2 separate regions of the Homo sapiens genome follow, and region 2 is linked to region 1. Evidence: promoter capture Hi-C in 16 types of primary human blood cells and fetal thymus (Javierre and others, 2016). All regions are on one chromosome and are shown on one strand. The core of a region is centred on a gene start or on the middle of the fragment in contact, and the rest is flanking DNA. Distances in the headings are between cores, read along the strand shown. Region 1 holds the start of PMAIP1 (phorbol-12-myristate-13-acetate-induced protein 1). Region 2 has its middle 2.7 kb from the start of WDR7.

Region 1 (2,534 bases), core at 16-2,515:
ATTGCATTACACACCTATAAATGTATTAGTATCAATCAAATCAAGTTTAAGAGGGACTTTGTGCTGCTTCCTGTTCTTGGGAATTAAGTCGGACCAGAAAGTGCTATGCATAAGTAAGATCCTTCAGAAAGAAACAAGGTCAGAATCCTAAGACATCACAAAAGGTAGACAAAGCTTTTTCCATCCCACACAAGCGCCAGAGACAGCAGCCTGTTACCAACTTAGGCATGGTCACATTTGCAATGCACCACTTCCTTCGCACGCCCCAGGAGCTCTATAAAATGAAAGTAACTTAAAAGGTGGGGGGGGCGTATAATCGTCTGATGCAACAGCAGTATGGCCCACACAGACTTCGGGCTCTGGGCAGTGACTGGGTTCTCTGTTTAGATTTAGAAAAAGCATGGGGCCGGGGCGCTGGCCTGAAAACTTACGATGGAGCTGTATGTATCGGGGTGGGGAGTGCGAATGAATGAATGAAAAAAAGGAGCGGACTAACTCCTATTCTCCTATCCCCACCTCCCACAATATCGATTATTTAAATGTTACAAGATTTTCTAGGCTCCTGAACACAGGGGCCCTTGTGGGGCCGTCTCTGGAAGCGCTGGGAGTCCAGGCGGTCCCCGGGGCTCTCTCCTGCCCCTTCTGCCGCGACAATGACTTTCTCCTAGAGACAGCCGCCTACACTTGCACTTGTTCCTCGTGGCCCCGGGGAAGGGCAAGTGGCGAGGAGGAAAGAGAGGAGGAAAGGAGCTTTTTGCCCCTGGTGAAACGCAGCTGCATCCCAATCGCAAATCCGGCTTGGTCCCTCGCCGTACCCGCCGTACCCGCCGGTCCTGGGGAAAAACCCCGAAGAACTTTCTGGAGGCGCCCCTAAGGCTCGCGCCAGGGCACAGACCTGGCCCGACCTTGACCCCCGTGCAGTCTGTGCTTGAGCCCCGGCGAGCTGAGCCCGCCCCAGCCGAGACCTCGACCCCGGCCCCGACCCCGCCCGGCCTGGGTCTTCGCTGGCCCCAGCGGGTCGGTACCTGCTGGAGCCCGCGCGGGGCTCGGTTGAGCGTTCTTGCGCGCCTTCTTCCCAGGCATCTCCGCCGGTGCCGCCGCCCACTCAGCTACAGAGCCCGGGAACCTCAGCCTCCAACTGGAGCACCTCGGACAGCTGCAGGACGCGAGCTGAACACGAACAGTCCTGCAGGCAGGGATGCTGGGATCGGGTGTCCGGACGCGCGGAGATGCCAACTACACACGGTGAGTGCCCGGGAAACTCTGAGATCCCCGCGCCAGAGACCACGCTTTTGTCCAGTGAGAACTTCCCTGGTGACGTAGGGAAACTAGACGCCCGGCCCGCCCCTGTCCCCGCCCCTGTCCCCGCCCCGCAGACGGCGTTATGGGAGCGGACGCGGGACGCGGGCGGGGAAGTACCCCGCTGAGCGCGACCTGCCCGGACACGCTCCCGACCCGCGGCGGCGCCGACCCGCGGCGGGGGGCGCAGAGCGCTCGGCCCCGAAATTACTTCCTTACAAAACGAGGTGGGAGGAGAAGGGGGTCGGCTTTGACCATCTGCAAACGCTGGACGTCGTCAGCGGCAGTGGTGGCGGGAGCTGGGAGTGGCGGGAGCTGGGAGTGGCGGGAGGGGAAGGGTTTAACCAGGAGGAACGTTGTGGGTGGGGAGAGACCAGAGGCCTTGGCAATTAGAGACTTGGGTAAACAAGCCCAGAAAAGAGATTGGAAAAGGAAACTTTTCGAACTTGAAGAGTATGGGCAGTAACAGGGAAGGGAAATGAGAAGAACCTTAATCACCGCAGAGGAGATGCCAGAGGCCCTGTGAGAAAGCTCCGGGTCCCAGGAAGTCACTGCAAACAGAAGCCCTGGTGCCAGCCAGAAAGAACATCGTGTTTGAGTTGGGAAGGGATTTGTGTGTGTCCTTCCAGATAGGTCGATATCGCCCATTGTGGATGTTTAGCAAAAACGAGTGGATCGTTATCATATGGAAAACGTTCAAATCTTTTGTGGGAGGGCTGAGCTACCTGGGAACGTGAAATTATTTGCATAATGTTTGGCGAGGCCATGAGTAATTCTACTATTATGAAGAGGAGTAATTAGGAGTGGTTAACGGTTACTGAGAGCCGCTTCATGCTAAGGACTTTGACATGCATTTTCTCATTCCGTCCTCAGAACAACCGTTGCTACTTTACGGGTGCAGAAACTGAGGTTTGTAGAAAATTGCCCAAGTTCACTTAGGCAGAGAGCACTGCCCTGATTCCGAACCAGGCAGGCCCACAGAGAGCAAGAGCTCTTACCCACTGTAGCCTTCCCAGCAATCAGTTTCTTAGAAAATGTGTGTTTTCGCCGAACGCGGTGGCTCACGCCTGTAATCCCAGCTCTTTGGGAGGCCGAGGCGGGTGGTTCGTTTGAGGCCAGGAGTTCGAGACCAGCCTTGCCAATATGGTGAAACCCCGTCTCTACTGAAATACAAAAGATTAGCCGGCCTTGGTGGTGCACGCCTGTCGTCCCAGTTGCTTGGGCGGCTGAGGCAC
Region 2 (2,534 bases), core at 16-2,515, 3.3 Mb after region 1:
GCCATGGATATGGACATGGACATAGATATGGAAATGGATGTAGATGATAACCTAAATTAGGGAGTGACAGCCATCACCTTTGCCATATATTATTGGTTAAAGTAAGTCACGGGTTTTATCTGTACTCAAGGAGAAAGGATTATACAAGAGTGTGACTTATCGGGGTCACTTAAGATGGGCCAGCCACAAATATTAATTTGGCAGCAATGTGCCATGTAAATCAGGTGGGAAATACAGGGAAGCAAGGAGACAAGTGAGATGTCGTCATTGTTGTTGTAACCAAAAATGTATGGTTATCACTGCAAAAGAATCATAAATGAGACCCACAGGATAAAATCGGGAATTTCACCATTTTAGAGGCATATATATATATATTTTTTGAGATGGAGTCTTGCCCTGTCACCCAGGCTGGAGTACAATGGCACCATCTCAGCTCACTGCAACATCCACCTCCTGGGTTCACGCAATCCTCCTTCCTCGGCCTCCCGAGTAGCTGGGATTGCAGGTGCACACCATCACACCTGGCTAATTTTTTTTATTTTTAGTAGAGATGGGGTTTCACTCTATTGGCCAGACTGGTCCCGAACTCCTGGCCTCAAGATTGGCCTGTCTCGGCCTCCCAAAGTGTTGGGATTACAGGCGTGAGCCACCACACCCAGCTTTAGTGGCATTTTTAAAACTTAAGTACTACTCTGTCCTTAAAATTTAGTAGCAGGCTGGGCACAGTGGCTCACGCCTGTAATCCCAGCACTTTAGGAGGCCGAGGCAGGCAGATCGCAAGGTTGGGGGTTTGAGAATTTAGTAGCAAATTACCCTACAGCACACCAGTACCTTCTGGACTTCTTAAGCTCCAGGTTAGCTCTGCAAAAGGCAAGGAGGCTTGTTCTTCCATTTTACAAATTTCAAAAGAGGGAGATAGCCCAGTGGCCTAACAGTGACTTTATTGCTACTGTTATTTTCGGATCACTTCATGCATGCTGTTATTTTTTTCTCATCGAGGTTTTCAGTCGTAGTTTGGTATTCCCCATGGTGCCTAGTACTCAGCTAATACTCCCCTTTCCTTCCTGGACCCTCTCCCAGAAAAGTCCTATCATGGTCGATGGCTTTATTTTAATACCAAATGGCAAAGAGGCTTAATAAGGGTTTTTTGCATGATTTTTGTGTAATTAAAACTGTTTTGTGCAATTAAGAGATTCCTTTTGCACTTTCTCACATGACATAAAAGTCAAGTGTTGATACTTCTCTTTTTTTCCTGTCTCATGACTTCCATGATTCAAACCATTTCTTTCCAAGTAACAAAATGTCTTTTTCTAGAAACATCTCTAGTTACTCCATACTCAGGCCTTTTAGGAAGGAGTGAAGGTGATAAGGTTTAGGGTGTTAAGCCTCCTCACAAATGAGGGTTTCACAGCCCCCCTCACCAAACCAGCAAGACTAGCAAGGGAAAATTAGAATAGATAATGAAGGAGGAGCTGATAAGTCCTAGTGGTAGCCCTGGTCACCAACTGCAGCAACAGGGCTGTAGATCGTCTACTAACCTCCCTCTTCTAGGTTTCCCATAAGGAAGAGAGGGTGACCAGAAACCTGGAGGAGTTGCTCCCCAAACCTGTGTAGAGAAGGGAACTCATTTTTGTGTAAATAGTGGACTATGGGAGACACATGAAGCACCACCCAGATTCCCCTTCAAGAAAGAACCACTTCCTAGCTGCAAGGAGAGTGGTTTGCTCACACTCTTGCTGTTAGCTTCTTCAGGGTCACCTGGGCTTTCCAGCTGAGATCACACTAATCTTGAGGCAGCCTCTGATGAATGACTGAGCAGGGTGAGGAAAGTCCAGGGCACATTCTTCTTGGGGAGGCCCCTGTTCTAGGGGGTGGTATCAAGGCATAGGAATTTCTGCTCCCATGGGGGACTCCTTTAACAGGCAATCTTTGTACTAGAGCTTCCTCTTGGGTTAGTAGAGACTTTGTCAGATCTGCTTTTTCCCTTCCTCGGCCCAATCCTGCTTCCTCCCTTTTCCTCTCACAGATGTGAGAGAAATAAACCTTTTGGACTCCTCACTCCATCTCAGCATCAGCTTCCCAGAGAACCCAGCCTGCACCATGACACCATTTTTAACAATTGACAATCAGGAGCTGTCATTGTACTTTTGCAACTTTTCCCTCAGTTTTTTTTTTTTCCGTATAAAAAGTTGGAAAAAAAGAAACAAAGATTAAACTGATTTTTACTGATTTTTAATAAAAGAGAGACATCAGACTTATCAACCCATGCAATGCATGTGTCTTATTTTGATATTGATTCAAGTAAGCTATAAAATAAATTAGGAGAAAAATGGGAAATTTTAACCGAGTGGATATTTAATGATATTAAAGAAGCCTTGTTAACATATTAGAATGTAATAATGATATTTCGGTTATGTCTTTAGAGGATTCCTCATCTTCCAGATGTGCAGGCTGAAATATTTATGGATGAAATTGTCAGATGCCTAGCATTTGCTCCATGATAATCTGAGGTAAGGAAGACAGTGGCAATAGCT

Evidence for each region. The method cuts DNA at HindIII sites, captures the fragments that hold promoters and counts their contacts. A CHiCAGO score of 5 or more calls a contact.
Region 2: a fragment that was not itself captured here is called in contact with the fragment with the promoter of PMAIP1 in region 1 in 1 of 17 cell types (total CD4 T cells); the score reaches 5.8 in total CD4 T cells.

Annotation. Positions count from the first base shown.
Region 1 is chr18:59,898,727-59,901,260 of GRCh38, reverse strand. PMAIP1 (phorbol-12-myristate-13-acetate-induced protein 1) reads right to left here and starts at 1,265. Exons shown (of 2, transcript NM_021127.3): 1 at 1,026-1,265. The coding sequence starts at 1,083. RefSeq lists silencers at 899-1,108, 1,259-1,668 and an enhancer at 1,425-2,176. The HindIII fragment of the contact is 10,069 bases long and covers 177-2,534 here.
Region 2 is chr18:56,647,425-56,649,958 of GRCh38, reverse strand. No RefSeq gene overlaps it. Among named protein-coding and RNA genes, the nearest start is that of WDR7, 2.7 kb to the left of the region's middle. The HindIII fragment of the contact is 3,586 bases long and covers 1-2,534 here.